Regions from separate parts of the Homo sapiens genome. Here all the other regions are linked to region 2. Evidence: promoter capture Hi-C in 16 types of primary human blood cells and fetal thymus (Javierre and others, 2016). All regions are on one chromosome and are shown on one strand. The core of a region is centred on a gene start or on the middle of the fragment in contact, and the rest is flanking DNA. Distances in the headings are between cores, read along the strand shown. Region 1 overlaps CAP1 (cyclase associated actin cytoskeleton regulatory protein 1). Region 2 holds the start of ZMPSTE24 (zinc metallopeptidase STE24). Region 3 overlaps PPT1 (palmitoyl-protein thioesterase 1). Region 4 overlaps PPT1 (palmitoyl-protein thioesterase 1). Region 5 overlaps SMAP2 (small ArfGAP2). Region 6 holds the start of ZFP69B (ZFP69 zinc finger protein B).

Region 1 (2,813 bases), core at 119-2,618, 210 kb before region 2:
TAAATACTCACTAGTCATTTCCACTTAGAAGCTTTGTCTTCTTTTCAAACTCAGCATATCCAAAACTGACCTCATCTTGTTGCCCTAACTAGAACATGCCACAACCCATTTCTGCCTATAATGTCATTATTCTCTTAAGGCCCCCATATTTGCAAATCAGGAGTCATCTTTGCCTCCCTTCTCTGAATGCTGCTGTGCTCACAGTCAGTACCATACAGTTAGTACTTGTTCTCAGTTTAATGCACACTTGTTTCATATGACCTCCTAGGGCAGAACCAAGATTCGTGGGTGGAAGTTGCAGGGAGGCAGATTTGCCTCCATATAAGGAAGAACTTTTTAATACTTTGAGCTGTCTGAATGGAATGGACTGCCTCCAGAAGTCTCGGGTTCTCCATCACTGAAGGTGTTTGAGCAGAGGCTGCCTGACTAATTGCTAATTGAAAGGACTGTTCTGGCATAAGATGGTGTTTTTACAAGATGATTTCTAGAATCCCTCTAATCCTGAGAGCCAGTGAGTCGATAGAAGGTAGCTTTGTCTCTCCTGCTAGACTCCCTTAGGACAGGGAGACTATTTTACCTTTCTTTTATATTCTGTACAGCACTTAATTCAGGTGCTGGTCTCTTAATTGCCTAAAGATGATTATTTACAGGTTAATTGATTCTTTTCATTTTGTTCCAATATTTGGTTAAACACCAAATATTGTGGATTTTTTTCCTTTGAAATATCTTGGGGAGACCAAGGCAGGTGGATCACCTGAGATCAGGAGTTCGAGACCAGCCAGGCCAACATGGCGAAACCTTGTCTCTACTAAAAATACAAAAATTCGCCGGGCGTGGTGGTGCATGCCTGTAGTTCCAGCTACTCGGGAGGCTGAGGCAGGAGAATCGCTTGAACCTGGAAGGTGGAGGTTGCAGTGAGCTGAGATCATGCCATCACACTCCAGCCTGGGCAACAGAGTGAGACTCCATCTCAAAAAATTACAGTAATAATAAATAAATACAAATATCTTTTGTAGTAGCATTATTTTAGATGAATAACAGCTTTTAACCTAACTTTCTAGACCCTAATATCATCACTTGTCTCCACATCCCATTCTGTTTATCAGACAGTACTTGTAAGCTCTTTGCTTTCATCATATTATTCTTTCACTCAAAACCCTTGAATGGCTTCACATTGATCACAACGTCAAATTTAAATTTTCCCTGGCTTTCAGTGCCCTCCATCATCTGGCCCAGCTTGCTCATGCATCCTTGTTCCCTATAATACTCCATGTTCCATGCAGGCTAACCCACTCACATTTTCTGTACATAGCCTGCTTGGTCTCCTTTTTTGCTTTTGACTTGCTCTGGAATGGCTTCCCTTTTTTCTCTTGCCTCTTCAAGATGCCTCACTTCCCTCCTGAAACCAAGCTACCGCCAGTCCTCATTGATTTCCTCTGAACTCTCAGAGCATGTAGTAATTTATGTAATTCAGAACCGTAGCAACAACATTCTGTGAAGAAAAATCTGCAAGAATAGGCTGATAATTTAACTTTCCCTAATCCAACTGGATATTCCCATAATAAAACTTTTAAAAATATAGGCTGGCTGTCATGGTTCACATCTGTAATCCCAGCATTTTGGGAGGCTGAGGCAAGAGGACTGTTTGAGCCCAGGAGTTTGAGACTAGCCTGAGCAACATAGTGAGACTCTGTCTCTATCACACACATACACACACACACACACAAAAGCCAGGCATGGTGGCATGTAGTTATAGTCCCAGTAGTCCCAGCTACTCAGGAGGCTGAAGCCAGGAGGTCAAGGCTGCAGTGAGCTGTGAACACACCATTGCCCTCCAGCCTGGTCAATAGAGCCAGACCCTGTTTTTTGTTTGTTTGGGGTTTTTTTGTTTTGTTTTTTTGTTTTTTGAGATGGAGTCTCACTCTGTCGCCCAGGCTGGAGTGCAGTGGCGCGATCTTGGCTCACCGCAAGCTCCGCCTCCCGGGTTCATGCCATTCTCCTGCCTCAGCCTCCTGAGTAGCTGGGACTATAGGCCCCTGCCACCGTGCCTGGCTAATTTTTTTTATTAGAGACGGGGTTTCACAGTGTTAGCTAGGATGGTCTCGATCTCCTGACCTTGTGATCCGCCTGCCTCGGCCTCCCAAAGTGCTGGGATTACAGGCGTGAGCCACCGCGCCCAGCCTGTTTTTTTTTGTTTTGTTTTGTTTTTTAAATAAAAGCAGAAAAACTTTAACAAATATAATCTACAGTATTTATTCCATTCACATTTTATTTTGTTGTCTTAACCAATATGAGTGCTTCTGGAGGGGAGGGACCATGTGTCTTCTATTTCTTCAGTAGGCCCACAATGCTAAGCACTTTGATTTTATTAGCATCTTCTGTGTGCCTAGTTTTTCTAGGTGCTGGGAGATAGAGTCAGTGCAGGAGGTAGAATGGATAAATTCCCATCCTTCTTGAGCCTATATTCTAGTACGTAATATGTAGTGCTAACATTTTACATTTGAATTGCATTTTAAGGCTTCTGAAGTGATTACTCGTATCTATGAAATCACCTCCTTTGATCCTTATATCTGTGTATGCTAGATGAGGATTATAATCCATTATGTGACTGTGTAAAGTTGCACAGTTAGTATGTACAGCTTGGGACTCAGGCCTCAGTCTTCTAATTTTATTTGGACTTGTGTAATTTTGACCACCTGTGTTTCTGAAGCTTTTATGATGAATGCTTAAGTAGTTGGGAATCCGGACATTCATTTATGGAGGTTTACGTATAGTTCTTGGTTATTGACAATTAGAAATGGCAAGGAGCAAGA
Region 2 (2,907 bases), core at 153-2,652:
AGATACAAGTGCTGAGAAATGGTTTTACATAAATAGGTGAGAATGCTAGTAGTTTTGTTGTAAGCATGTCAATCAATCGTTTGGTTTCTTTCCGAGTTGCATGCCAAAAACCAAATAGTGTTCCTTCATCAGCTGACAATTCATGGGCCACCATTAATTTTGTTGAAAGCAAAGAACTGGAAACCATCTGACTTGAAAAGAATTTGTTATCCTGTTATTAGAGTCATTCACTTTCTCTAGTGACTTTTAATTATACTAATTACTCTCAGAGGCATTTAGGCAGGGTTGAGAAATTCAAGATATTAATTTCAACACATCTTTAGCATCACAATATCACAGTAATTTAAATATATTTTAGTTGTAGCTATTTAGCTCACTTTATTGTAAATAATAATTATGCTAATTAGCAACGATAGTATGTTTAACCAATTAATCATCAGATTAACTTTCGGTCAGAATAATGGACTTCAATTTTTAAGTCAAAGCAATGTACAGGCGTCCCAGTCACCATATTTCACTTCTGAATTCCAAGAGAGAAATGGCGTTGCGCCTTACTGACGCAAATATGTACCTAGATAAAGTAAGACGCTTTCATTTCAGGTATGTCTAACCCACGCTATCCTTGCTTTGTTCCAGGGCACTCTCGCAGGGAAAACGCCGCCTCTGACTACACTTGGGGTGGTTAAGACGAGATCTTCAAATGAAAATTCTCAACGCTACCGTCCACTCTCTCATACGCTTGAATTCCGAACACCCCAATACTGGCCAAAAGACTCCATTTCTCATGCTTGGTCTTGCTTTTGAGGTAGCTCTAACTCAGAGGCACGATTTTTAGAGCCTGGGAAGTCGGCTGCTGTTCAGTCCTTCCTAGCCTCCTCAGGCGGGAGCCGCGGCCCACTCAGTCAGTTGCGGCCCACTCAGTCAGTTCCGGCCCCAGCCCCGACTACCTGTCGCCTTGTTGGGGGAAGGAAGGCAGATACCGCAGCCCAGTCAGGGTAAGCCGCTGACCCAGAGGATGGAACTGCGGCTCTGGAGATTAGAAAGAGGAGGACTTCGCCGCGTTCACTAGCCCAGGAGGAAAGCCAGAACCCTAGGCCGGAACCCAGCGTCAAGACGTGGGGGAAGAATGTTGATGCAACACAGCTCAGCCGGGCCCGGAACTCGGCGTTTGGGTCCCCGCCCTCTTTGGGCCGGAAGTGAGGAAGGTGGGGCTGGGGCTTTTCCTGTAGAAACTAGGAGGGACTAGGGAGAGTCTGCAAGGGGAAGAGTGTGTCTGTGACACTGCCAGCAGCGCGCAGAGGGAGGGATGGGGGCGGGTATCGGCGTAGGGGCCCTCGGAAAGAACGGATATTGCTGTGACACCGCGGGGACGCTCTGAAGGGACGAGTGTCGGTGTGGCACCGGTGCACGCTGAAGGAGCCGGCGGAACCGGGTGGCCATGGGGATGTGGGCATCGCTGGACGCTTTGTGGGAGATGCCGGCCGAGAAGCGTATCTTCGGGGCCGTGCTGCTCTTTTCCTGGACAGTGTATCTTTGGGAGACCTTCCTAGCACAGCGGCAGGTGAGCCTAGACAGGGTCCAACCTGACCCCCATACCCGGCCAGCCCTGGAGTAGCCTTGGCTTCGACCCTGAGACTCTTGATTGCTTCGGTCCCCGCGCCAGTCTCGTCTTTGTGGTCCCTGCTGAGTCTCGTAACTTGGCCCGATGGCGGACTGTGGCTTTGAGGAGGGTCTTGGTGCGTCAAGGAAGTTTTCTGTAACGTTATCATGGGACCCAATCCCTTTAGGGCCTGGAGGAAGGCTTGGGCTCTTGTGCCCTCCCTGCAGCTTCCTTGGGATCCTTGGGCCCAGACTTGGCCTCCTTTATCTTTGGAATAAGCCTTTAAAAGGATTTAGACACCCAACTTCCTCATGACATTTATGTAATCATGCCTAACCATAGGATTTTGCAGTCCTTCCAAGAACTTGCACTCTTGTTTCTCCTTAAAGTGCATATATTGTTTCTGCTTGAAAAAACAAACAAACAAACAAAAAACTTATCGGGCCCGGCGTGGTGTCTCATGCCTGTAATCCCAGCACTTTGGGAGGCCGAGGCGGGCGGATCACCTGGGGTCAGGAGTTCGAGACCAGCCTGACCAACGTGGCGAAAACCCGTCTCTACTAAAAATAGAAAAATTAGCCGGGTGTGGTGGCGCGCACCTGTAGTCCCAGCTACTTGGGAGGCTGAGGCAGGAGAATCATTTGAACCCAGTAGGCGGAGGTTGCAGTGAGCTGAGATTGTGCCACTGCACTCCAGCCTGGGCGACAAGAGTGAAACTCAATCTCAAAATAAATAAATAAATGAAATTAAATGAAATATATTTCTCGTTTTTCATAAAATCAACATTATTTTAGTTTAAATATTAAAATGGTAAAATAAAAAGTGAAAGTTAACAATTTACCTGAGATAACCATGGTTTAGAGATCTGAACTTTTATTTATTTATTTTTAATCTTTATTTATTTATTTAATTTTAGAGTCTAGCTCTGTCACCAGGCTGGAGTACAGTGGCGTTATCTCGGCTCACTGCAAGAAACTAGGAGGGACGAGGGAGAGTCTGCAAGGGGAAGAGTGTGTCTGTGACACTGCCAGCAGCGCGCAGAGGGAGGGATGTTCAAATGATTCTCCTGCCTCAGCATCCCGAGTAGCTAGGATTACAGGCACGTGCCACCACGCCCAGCTAATTTTAGTATTTTTAGTAGAGACGGGGTTTCACCATCTTGGCCAGGATAGAATATTTATTGTATTTAGAGACAGGGGCTCACTCTGCCACCCAGACTGGAGCACAGTAGCATCATCATAGCTCAAGGCAGCCTCGAACTCGTGGGCTCAAACGACCCCTCCACCTCCACCTCAGCCTTCTGAGTT
Region 3 (2,700 bases), core at 1-2,500, 170 kb before region 2:
TCCCCAAACCCGCAGAGTTTCAGGATTTTCCTGATATGGGCAAATGCAAATATTTCTTTCAACTTTCATAGAAAATAAATTAAGCTCCAGCCAGGCATGGTGGCTCACACCTGTAATCTCAGCACTTTGGGAGGCTGAGGTGGGTGGACTACCTGAGGTCAGGAGTTCGAGACCAGCCTAGACAACATGGTAAAACCCCATCTCTACTAAAAATACAAAAAATTAGCTAGGTGTGGTGGTGAGCACCTATAGTCCCAGCTACTCGGGAGGCTGAGGCAGGAGAATCACTTGAACCTGGGACGTGGAGGTTGCAGTGAGCTGAGATCGCGCCACTGCACTCCAGCCTGGGCAACAAGAGAGAAATTCTGTCTCAAAAAAAAAAAAAAAAGAAAAGAAATTAAGTTCCATAAAGCTTCTTACACAGGAACATTTTAGGAAATTTCCCTTCCAAGATAGGTGACAATCTTGAATTGGAGGAGTGGATTTATCTGAATAAAAGAAACAAAAATCAATTCCATATAAGTGGTACAATATAACAAAAAGGAACGTACAGAAATTGGCCTCCCTGGGAGAATCCCATAGCATTGTAGCCTTGCTGCAATTTAGGATCCTTAGCAAGTGCCTGACACACTGTTGTTACTTGGGAATTGACATTCAAGAAGAAGCTGTTCTCCACGTCCTAAAAAAGAAGCCAGAGAGAAGTGAGAGGATGGGACTGAAAACAACCACTGACATCTTCTCTAAGAGGTAAACTCATTTAGGTTGGTATCCTCACATGAGCCACTCAAGGGTGAAAGTATCACTGTATGATCTGCTGCTGAAAACACAAGGCAAAGCATTTTAACAGTATATGCTATGAAATCAGTCAGCAACCCTTCAAAGGAACAGCTGTGAAGCGCCTTACCTCCATCAGGGTCTTCCCAATCTCTAAAGATAAGACGTAAATTCCAGGTATTTTCTTCTCCACCATTTTTTTAATAGCACCCATGCTTAAGGGATTGCAACAGCTGTCTCCTAGCCAACAAAACACAATGATGGAAACTCATGAGTCCAAATATTGTTTATTGTTTAAAAACTCTGAGGCCTCAAACAGCATTATCAAGGATGTGAAAACAATGTATAGAATGGAAGAAAATATTTGCAAAACAGTTATCTGATAAGGGCTTAATATCCAGAATATACAAGGAATCTATAACTCACTTACAACTCAACAAAAAGATAACCTAATTTAAAAATGGGAAAAGAAATTAAACAGATATTTTTCCAAAGAAGATATACAAATGGCTAACCACTGGCATGTGAAATGCAAACCAAAACCACGATGAGATACCATTTCACACAGACTAGGATGTCTTTAATAATAATTTTTTAATAGAAAATAACAAGTATTGTCAACGATGTAGAAAAATGGGACCCCTTGGACATTGCTGGTGGGAATGTAATAAGCAGCCACTGTGAAAAACAGTTTGGTGGTTTCTCAAAAAGTTAAACATACGATTACTAAATGACTCAGCAATTCAACTCCTAGTTATACACCCCAAAGAAATAAAAACACACGTCCATGCAGAAACTTGCATATAGATGTTAACAGCAGCAGTGTTTGTAATAGTCAAAAGGGAGAAACAATCCAGCAGTCCATCAATGAATGAATGAATAAAATGTGGTATATTCACACAATGGAATATTACTGAGTTATAAAAAAGGAACAAAGTGCTGACACATGTTACAACTTGAATGAACCTCAGAAACATTATACTAAGTGAAAGAAGCCAGACTCAAAAAGCCACATAATGCATGATTCCTTTCATAGGATAAATAAAGAACAGGCAAATCCACTGAGATACAGAAAACTAAGCTGGAGATTATCAAGAAGTAGTAGGAGGGGGCAATAGGGAGTGATTGCTTAATGGCTATGTGTGTTTTTCTGGGGTGTTGAAAAAGAAGTGTTAGTTGCACAACATTGCAAATACACTAAATGCCACTGAATCGTACCATTTTAAATGGTTAACTTTACATGAATTTTTACCTCAATTTTAAAAAACAGAAGAAAGAACATTTTTTGCTTAGCTCCTGTTTATCAAGTAATAACAAGCTTCAAAAGTCCATACAGGAGCTGGGTGTCATGGCTCACGTCTGTAATCCCAGCAGTTTGGGAGGCCGAGGTGGGTGGATCACAAGGTCAGGAGCTCGAGACCAGCCTGGGCAACATGGTGAAACCCCATCTCTACTAAATATACAAAAATTAGCCGGGTGTGGTGGCACATGTCTGTAGTCCCGCTACTTGGGGGGCTGAGGCAGGAGAATCGCTTGAAACTGAAAGGTGGAGGTTTCAGTGAGCCAAGATCATGCCACTGCACTCCAGCCTGGGCAACAGAACAAGGCTCCATCTCAAAAAAAAAAAAAAAAAAAAATCCATATAGGCCAAGCATGGGCTCATACCTATCATCCCAGCGCTTTGGTAAGACGAGGCAGGAGGATTGCTTGAGGCCAAGAGTTCGAGACCAGTTTGGGCAACATAACGAGACCCTGTCTCAAAAAAACCAAAAAGCCCATATAGGATAATTAAGACACCAAATTTACAAATGAAAAATAAGCAGAGGTACACATTCCCTTCCCCTATCACAGGGGATATTTGGGGTGAACAGATGCAAAGTTTTCTCTTCAGGGCCAGGACTAGGGTGAGGCAAATTAAGCATCTAG
Region 4 (2,500 bases), core at 1-2,500, 180 kb before region 2:
ATAATTAATTAAAAAGCTTAATGAAGTTTTGGAGTAAAATGGTAAGTACGTTAACTTGAGATATATTTTCAAAATGCAGTTTGTCCTGAGTATTAAAATTGAGGTGTATTTTCAAAAATGCCAAAAAGAATATCTCCTACTTCTTTTTCTTTCTCTTTTTTCTTTTTCTTTCTTTCTCTTTCTTCCTTTCTTTTCTTTCTTCTCTCCTCCCCCTCCTCCTGTCCCCCCCGCTTCTTCTTCTTCTTCCTCTCTCTCTCTCTGTCTCTCTTTCTCTTTCTTTCTTTCAAGACGGAGTCTTGCTCGGTTGCTTAGGCTGGAGTGCAGTGGTGCGATCTCGGCTCACTGCAACCTCCACTTCTCTGGCTCAAGCGATTCTCCTGCCTCTGCCTCATGAGTAGCTGGAATTACAGGCGCATGCCACCATGCCTGGGTAATTTCTTGTATTTTTAGTAGAGATGGGGTTTCACTGTGTTAGCTAGGATGGTCTTGATCTCCTGACCTCAGGTGATCCACGTGCCTCGGCCTCCCAAAGTGCTGGGATTACAGGCGTGAGCCACCACACCCGGCCAGTTTTTTCTAAGTATTAAAAATAGATATGCAATTGAGATTGCTCTATACAGTGTTCTAGATTCTGATTTTTGAAAAGCTCAGAGTCAGAGGACTACCTATAGGTGGGCAAGCCATAGACGACACTGCCTCAGAATGCCATAGGTAAGTGGGACTGAGCCAAAGACAGAACATTAGCTAGGTAACTTAAAAAACATCCAACCCAGGACAGGCGCGGTGGCTCACGCCTATAATCCCAGCACTTTGGATGGCCAAGGCAGGCGGATCACCTGTGGTCAGGAGTTCAAGACCAGCCTGACCAATATGATGACACTTTGTCTCTACTAAAAATACAAAAATTAGCTGGGCATGGTGGCGGGCACCTGTAATCCTAGCTACTTGGGAGGCTGAGACAGGAGAATTCGCTTGAACCCGGGAGGCGGAGGTTGCAGTGAGCTGAGATCATGCCATTGCACTCCAGCCTGGGCAATGAGCAAAACTGTCTCAAAAGAACAAAACAGAAAAACCATATCCAACCGTTAGGTAACAAACCCTGGACACTTTCATATTCTGGAGTTGAAAATGTCATTACCCATAGCCTAGATGCTGGAGAACAACCTCTGGTTGGGAAGATAAGCAGTTACGACAGTGCCAGAATGGTGCTTCTGCCGTGGCCAACATCATTTTGAGTTTTCACAGTAAGGAAGTTCTTAGCTGTAATTTCTCAAGCCTTTTTTTTTTTTTTTCTCAAATCAGATTCTAGCTTCCCTTTTTACCTCACCACCCAAGTTGAGGCACCCAGTGCAAAAGAAAAGCCAAGCCAAGAGGAGACAAATGACCTCTGAAATAACATGGAGGAATTCTAGTAGACGGTGATTGGTTCAGATGTAGTACTTAGCATTTTGGAGAGTCTGTCTCCAATATAAAATCCTTAGGGCTGGGCGTGGTGGCTCACACCTGTAATCCCAGCACTCTTGAAGGCTGAGGCAGGTGGATCACCTGAGGTCAGGAGTTGAAGACCAGCCTGGCCAACATGGTGAAACCCCGTCTCTACTAACAAAACAAAGTATTAGGCATGGTGGCGTGTGCCTGTAATCCCAGCTACTAGTGAGGCTGAGGCAGGATAATCGCTTGAACCCAGGAGGTGGAGGCTGCAGTGAGCTGAGATCACACCATTGCACTCCAGCCTGGGTGACAAAGCAAGACTGTCTCAAAAAAAAAAAAAAAAAAAAAAAAAAAAAAAAATCCTTAAAGTGTAGAAGGCCCCAGAACTGGAGGTGGCAAATTACTGCAACTTCTGCTTAAGATACAGGACCTACTGCTAAACAAAATTCAAAACTCTAGTCCCACTCAACCTCCTGCAGGAGCCTCCCTTGTCAGTGCGTAATTTAGAAACAGGATTTCACATCTATTAATGTTTAAAAGTAATGTCCCTTGGCCAGGCGCACTGGCTCACGCCTGTAATCCCAGCACTTTGGGAGGCTGAGGTGGGTGGATCACCTGAGGTCAGGAGTTCAAGACCAGCCTGGCCAACATGGTGAAACTCCATCTCTCCTAAAAATACAAAAATTAGCCAGGTGTGATGGCACACACCTGTAATCCCAGCTACTAAGGGGGCTGAGGCAGGAGAATTGCTTGAATCTGGGAGGCAGGGGTTGCAGTGAGCCAAGATTGCTCCACTGCACTCCAGCCTGGGTGACAGAGCGAGACCCCGTCTCAAAGAAAAAAAAAGGAATGCCCCTCATCATGCATGGAGGCTTCCTGGATTTGTAGCAGACTGTACCTCAGCCAAGGCAGCTAGTTTTAAAACCTTTTTATCAAAAGAAGGGAATCAGACATGAGGTTTCTCTTGTTGTTTGGAAACCATAAGGTTTCAGGATGTAGTGGATTTTTGTAACCCAGTGCCTAATAAGCTAGAGCACATAATCAAGAGCCTAACAAGCTTCACCCATAT
Region 5 (2,946 bases), core at 218-2,717, 160 kb after region 2:
AGGACCTACCCTCATCAAAGACATACTGAGAACAGGTCTGAGATGTGGTAGATTAGAACTCTGTTTACTTGGAGGATCAAAAATAAGAGACTTCAGATATATAGGAGTATAGGTAGTAACCTTGGGAAAGCATTGCTTCTCGGGGAGATGGGCATGGCCTAAAAGGAGGAGGTACCCTTTAGAGGACTGGTGGTGAAGGAAAGAAAGACACGAGAAATGGGAATGAGAATCACAAAATCAAATATACACCTTCTTCCCTCTTCCAAAATAACCACTTCACTAATAAAAGATGGTGCTCTTAATCTAAGAAATTTAGTAAGCCTCCCCAAACCTTCACACCTATTATTGCTGATTGAGAAAAAATAAGACCTTACAAAAATGAACCAAACATGGAAGCTGACATTTGTACACAACTACTACAGGAAGAAAATAGAAAATGAAAATCAAAACATTTCACGTAATGAATATTCTCCCTCAAAAAACAGTCATGAAGCAGAAGAAAATTGTTACACAATCTACCAATCTGAATTAAATGTCCTTAAACATTTGCAGATAAGACAAAACACCTTAAATCAGAAATTCAAAAACTTAAAGCCAAAATGGATAAAAAACTGCATGCTGTGAAATGAAAGTTTACTAAACTCAGAAAAGAAATTGAAGAAAAAGCCAAAATTTTCGTATAAAGACTCAATTACAAGTTAGCTAAAGAACAATAGATTGAGCTGAAAATATATTCGGCATTGAGGAAAGGCATGAAACAGCTAAGAGAATGAAAACTAAATATAGAAAGTAGTAAAAAGAATTAGATGGAAATTAATATGGAAGTTAGGCAAAGAAAACTTACATATATTTGGAGATGCCCAAAGAAATAAAGACAAAATAAATAAAATATGGGACAGTATTAATGTGTTTAACACCAGAAAACATTCTAGAAATAAAAGACTTGGATATAATATGGAAAGAGCCCACTGTGTGTCTGGGAAAATTGACCCAGAACAGTCAACTTTAAAACATATCCCAGCAAATCTACAGACTTTAAAGAACATTCAAAATGTTTAGGGGTCCAACCTTTTCCATACCTCCTACCCACAAAAATCTGTTACTTAGAACAAACAAAAAATACCCAGGTTGACATCAGACTTCCTAGCAGCAAAATACAAAAAGAATAACAAGGAGAGTAGTATTTTAAAGACACTCAAGTGTATGCAAGACACAACAAGTATTTTACAACCAAGCCAGCCAAGCTATCCTTCAGGTATCAAGGCTGTAAAAAATAAATATGCAAGAACTCAGAGAATATCACACTTACAAGACTTTCCTGGGGAATCTAACAGAAGATAAGCTTCATCCACCTAAGAGATGACTGGGGTCATTTTCATTTTTGGCAAAAGAACTGATGGTGAGAATTGAATGTTTAATTGAGAATCTAAGACTAAAACAAAGGTGGTGACAAGCGTTGCAGAATATACATTATATTCTGACAAACAAATACAACTGAAAATGAAGGAGGAGGGAGAAAAGTTGAATAATAAATATTGTATGGGAAAGAAGTAGAAATCGAAGGATGCAATAAGCTGACAAACCAAATCACGGAAGCTTGAATAAGGAAAAAGGAGACCAAGGACATTGCTAAAAAGTATTACTATGAAGGTAATCACTAGAACAAACACGTGAAATGTTCTGAATACCAAGATAATTTTCTTCCTTTCTTTTTTTTTTTTTTTTTTGAGACAAAGTCTCACTCTGTCACCCAGGCTGGAATGCAGTGGCACAATCTCGGCTCACTGCAACCTCCGCCTCCTGGGTTCAAGTGATTCTTCTGCGTCAGCCTCCCGAGTAGCTGGGATTACAGGCACCCGCCACCACACCCGGTTAATTTTTTTTGTATTTTTTAGTAGAGACGGGGTTTCACCATGTTGGCCAGGCTAGTCTCAAACTCCTGACCTCAGGTGATCCACCCACCTTGGCCTCCCAAAGTGCTGGGATTACAGGCATGAGCCACTGCGCCCAGCTGAGAATTTTTAAAAACAGACTACAAAGTGCAGCAAATACAATAAACACAGTAAAAATCTAATATGATGGAGTTGAGACCAAACATACCAGTCATACCAGTAGGCAACTCTTCTATCAAAAGAAAATGATGTTCAAATTGGCTAACAAAGCAACACTAGTTTTGCACTAGGTACAAAGAAATACAAAGTGATTTAATGTGAAAACCAAGAGACAGGCAAAGGAACCCCAGAGAGGTGGTATGGTGCATGTGTACTGCACATGTGCATGTATAGCTATCTTTATCAGGGTTATACTTATTTATAAGAAGTACTTTTATGTTTTTGTTTCTCTGTGGTCCAGAATAATTTATGTAGCTCTGGTCTTTGAAGGTTTTGTGGAATTCCCATGTGAAGTTTGTGGGCACTATTGCTTTTTTTGTAGCAAATCTTTGATACTTTTCTCTGTTTCTTCTATGGAAGTCAATTTTGGAAAACTGTATTTACCTAGATTTTCCATTTCGCCAAGGTTTTCAAATTTATCAAAAGTTATGCCTAGCAGTCTCATTAATTTTTTTCAAAGAACCAGGATTTCGATTTATTGGTGCTACATTTTTCCGTTTTCTACCTCAATTTCCGTAGGCTTTCTATGGGTTTACTTTGTTATTTTCTAGCTTTCATAGTGGAGATTTTAATTCACTTATTTTCATTGTTTCGTTTTTATTTATATAAGTAATGGAATGCTATAAGTCTGATGGGAATATGTCAGAGGGACGCATGAGCCAACTTCCAGTGGCTCTGACTGGCCAAATGTGAGACAATTTGAACATCAAAAAGAGTAACAACAGTAATGGATTATGACACACTGAATGGAAAAAACAAAACAAAACCATGAGTCCACGGTGATATTTTTTAAAAACCAGGTGTGGAATGGAGGGAGGAAAAGCCTTCTTTACAG
Region 6 (3,093 bases), core at 577-3,076, 190 kb after region 2:
GAAAGATGGTTGTTCTTCATCAGAGTCTGGGGCCCAAGAACGCAGGCTCCATCTCCTCCCGCAGGAGCCAGGCTGATGATGCTCGCAGGGATCGGATACTGGGAGCCCCTGAACGCAGCCAACCCGGCGCGCACCGGTGGGGGCGTCTGCGCTGGCGGAGCGGCTCCCCGGGAGGACGCTGGGAACCATGCTCTAGCCAGCCGCTGCGCAGGCGCACTGGGCCCCGACTGCCCGCCGCAGCGCTACGTGGGAGCTTGGCCGCGCAGTGCCGGAACCCGGCTGCAGCGGTGGGAAGGCGGGGGCGTGCCGGCCCAGCGGGGAGAGGGTGAGCGGGTGGCTGTCCCGGGCTTGGGGAGCTGGGCGAGCCGGGAAGCGCGAGTTCCGCCCGCGGCCACCCTGTCGCGCGCGGTGCTCTCCGCAGCCCCGGAGTCGTGCTCAGACAAAGGCTGGGAGGCTAGGGCCGGGGGCGTTTTGCTTTGTGGGGAGGACTTAGCCTCTCATTTGGGGAGGAGGAGGCGGGGTCTAGCGGTTTCGCGGTTTGCTACAGCCGACTAGTGAAAGAGCTGGGATTCCAAATCCCCGGCTACTTTACACATAATTACTGCCCCAAACAAAGAATTGGGTTGTATTCGTCTCTTTGTGCTTCCTGACATGTGCGCGGTGCTTTGAATTTTGTGGGCTGTGTCTGCCCACCGTCTCCGTGTATCTTTTGGAAACATTTTACAGTGATCCATATATGTTCTAGCGTTCTGCCCTATGACTGAGCCTCCTTAGTCCTTTGCTGATTCTAATGTCTTCTGCTCAGCATCTGCAGGGGCTGCTGAGAGTAAATACTTGGCGCCTCCAGCTGCTGGCCAAGGAGACAGATGGAGCTCAAGTTGGGAGATACGCCCTGAGAGCCGATGATAGACACAAGTCCAGATCTCGGATTTTGATACTGTATGTTCCCTGGGTTCCTGAGAGAGGACATTGAGGAGTAGGAGTCGGCGATTAAGGAGATCGGTACAATTGGGAAGCCTCCTGTCAGAGCTTCCAGCAATTTCCTCATCAGAGGTGGACAAGCCCTATGGGCTAAGACAGAGGGTCCTCAGAAAGGAGTGCGGACGCCGTCATGCTGCAGCAGCTCCTGATCACCCTGCCCACCGAGGCCAGCACCTGGGTGAAGTTGCGTCATCCAAAGGCGGCCACGGAGCGGGTGGCCCTGTGGGAGGATGTGACTAAGATGTTTAAAGCAGAAGGTAAGAATAAACTGATGGGTGGGAGGGAGGAAAAGCAGTCCCCTCTAGTGTGAGAAGGAATGAGTCACTTGAGTGGAAGCATCTCTTAGGGAGACGAGTGGGTGGAGGGTTTCCGGAGTTGTTGATTGTGGCTCCTAGTCTGGGGTTTTCCTAAGTAGTGGTGGTCTTTTCAGCCTAGGACCAGTATTTCAGTGTCATGGTTATGTATATTATTTATTTTCATCTTTCCCATGGCCATGTGGGGCAGGATGGACTTAACCTGATTTTTCTTATTCTAACAGTGGGGAAATGTAAATCAAATGGGAGGCCTGCCCAGGGTCACACAGGAACTTGGTGGCTAGGTCAGAAAGAGAAGCAGCAGGGGAAGTACCAGGTGAGCCTGGAGTAACTTGTGCTAGAAAGCAAGGAAGAGCTTAAAGACTATGGATATGTGTCAAAAGAGGCCAGGTTTAAGGGTCTCTCACTCGACAGATTTGGGAAAGCTTAAGTATCCAAACTGATGGTAACACCTTGAATAAGTAAAATTCCACATGATCACCTTGACACTTAAAATAGAGAAAGACGTGGGGGGGGGGGAATTCATTTGCAAACATTGGAGGTAATTAATACACTGATTCCTTACTTTGAAAAATAGGTTATTATGGGAATGAATGTGCATTTACCTTGCCTTTTAGATCCTCTTCAGTTGGTGAGGGAAAGCTTTTTACAGAAAATGCGTGCCAATAATGAAGGTAGAAAGAGGCCAGGTGTGGTGGCTCATGCCTGTAATCCCAGCAATTTGGGAAGCCAAGGTGGGCGGATTGCTTGAGACCAGGAGTTTGAGGTCAGCAGTTTGAGACCAGCCTGGCCAACATGATGAAACCCCATCTCTGCTAAAAATACAAAAATTAGCTGGGCGTGGTGGCACATGCCTGTAATCCCAGCTACTCGGGAGGTTGAGGCACGAGAATCGCTTGAACTAGGAAAGGGGAGGTTTCAGTGAGCTGAGATGGCGCCACTGCACTCCAGGCTGGGTGACAGAGCAAGACCTTGTCTCAAAAATAAATAAATAAATAAATAAATGTAGAAAGAATGATAGAATCTTTTACCGTAAATAAAATAATTGAAAGGTTAATGGGGAACAGATACTCACATGATATCAAAGTATTATCCCCTCAAATTACTTACTAAATGGCAAGGAATGAACATAATTTTCCAATAGTGAGGTGTGGTGGTCACAGTTTTAATCAAATGTCTCAGTAATGGGATAGCCGGGCATTTTATACTTTGCAGATACTGTAATATAAAGCACCTGGTACCACCTACAAGGTATTCCTACCAAAAATGTTGAACATGATCCTAAATTAAGTTTAAAGACTGAACTGCTGGTTTACAGAAAATACAGGGGATGGAGAAATGAGATAAACCTCACATTGAGGATACAGTCAGACTGTTCTTGTATCTTAAAAAGACAACATCATGAAGAAAGGGGAAGTACTTATTCTAGAGTAAAAGAGACTAGAGGTAACAACCACTTTGAATGTGTGAGCCTTGATTAACTCCTGGTTTGGAAAAAATCCAGAATAAAAGTTGAGGAAACAGTTGAGGAAATCTGAATATGGACTGAATATTTAGATGATACTATGGAATTATTGTTAATTTTCATAGATTTAATAAATAGTACTGTGGTTGTACAAGAGAAGATCCTTATTTGAAATATTTAGGGATAAAGTATTATGATGCAGACGACTTTGAAGTGCTTCAGAAAAAATGTAGATAGGTAAAGCAAATATGGTAAATATTAACAATTGTTGAATCTAGATGTGGATGTATAGATGTTCAATATTCATGATAAAAAGTTGGAATAAAATACAAA

What was found. Contacts are between HindIII fragments. The CHiCAGO score rates a contact against its expected background, and 5 or more counts as called.
Region 1: a fragment that was not itself captured here is called in contact with the fragment with the promoter of ZMPSTE24 in region 2 in 1 of 17 cell types (naive B cells); the score reaches 5.2 in naive B cells.
Region 3: a fragment that was not itself captured here is called in contact with the fragment with the promoter of ZMPSTE24 in region 2 in 8 of 17 cell types (erythroblasts, naive B cells, megakaryocytes and 5 more); the score reaches 7.9 in erythroblasts.
Region 4: a fragment that was not itself captured here is called in contact with the fragment with the promoter of ZMPSTE24 in region 2 in 5 of 17 cell types (erythroblasts, naive B cells, naive CD4 T cells and 2 more); the score reaches 7.4 in erythroblasts.
Region 5: a contact is called between a fragment that was not itself captured here and the fragment with the promoter of ZMPSTE24 in region 2, in 17 of 17 cell types (naive B cells, total B cells, total CD8 T cells and 14 more). The highest score is 14.0, in naive B cells.
Region 6: a contact is called between a fragment that was not itself captured here and the fragment with the promoter of ZMPSTE24 in region 2, in 5 of 17 cell types (naive CD4 T cells, naive B cells, total B cells and 2 more). The highest score is 7.4, in naive CD4 T cells.

The regions. Positions count from the first base shown.
Region 1 is chr1:40,049,687-40,052,499 of GRCh38, forward strand. The region is part of intron 1 of CAP1 (cyclase associated actin cytoskeleton regulatory protein 1); the gene reads left to right. Among named protein-coding and RNA genes, the nearest start is that of CAP1, 10 kb to the left of the region's middle. The HindIII fragment of the contact is 2,679 bases long and covers 30-2,708 here.
Region 2 is chr1:40,256,834-40,259,740 of GRCh38, forward strand. It overlaps ZMPSTE24 (zinc metallopeptidase STE24), which reads left to right and starts at 1,403. Exons shown (of 10, transcript NM_005857.5): 1 at 1,403-1,561. The coding sequence starts at 1,439. RefSeq lists enhancers at 634-763, 994-1,263, 1,344-1,623, 1,714-1,813. The HindIII fragment of the contact is 15,848 bases long and covers 1-2,907 here.
Region 3 is chr1:40,091,494-40,094,193 of GRCh38, forward strand. PPT1 (palmitoyl-protein thioesterase 1) reads right to left here. Exons shown (of 9, transcript NM_000310.4): 2 at 905-1,014; 3 at 552-679. Among named protein-coding and RNA genes, the nearest start is that of PPT1, 4.4 kb to the right of the region's middle. The HindIII fragment of the contact is 1,680 bases long and covers 411-2,090 here.
Region 4 is chr1:40,074,201-40,076,700 of GRCh38, forward strand. All of the region lies in intron 8 of PPT1 (palmitoyl-protein thioesterase 1), which reads right to left. Among named protein-coding and RNA genes, the nearest start is that of PPT1, 22 kb to the right of the region's middle. The HindIII fragment of the contact is 2,472 bases long and covers 15-2,486 here.
Region 5 is chr1:40,417,572-40,420,517 of GRCh38, forward strand. The region is part of intron 9 of SMAP2 (small ArfGAP2); the gene reads left to right. Among named protein-coding and RNA genes, the nearest start is that of ZFP69B-DT, 31 kb to the right of the region's middle. The HindIII fragment of the contact is 254 bases long and covers 1,341-1,594 here.
Region 6 is chr1:40,449,851-40,452,943 of GRCh38, forward strand. ZFP69B (ZFP69 zinc finger protein B) reads left to right here and starts at 626. Exons shown (of 5, transcript NM_023070.3): 1 at 626-1,238. The coding sequence starts at 1,112. It overlaps ZFP69B-DT (ZFP69B divergent transcript), which reads right to left and starts at 189. Exons shown (of 5, transcript NR_198977.1): 1 at 1-189. RefSeq lists a silencer at 245-504 and an enhancer at 720-1,919. The HindIII fragment of the contact is 217 bases long and covers 1,719-1,935 here.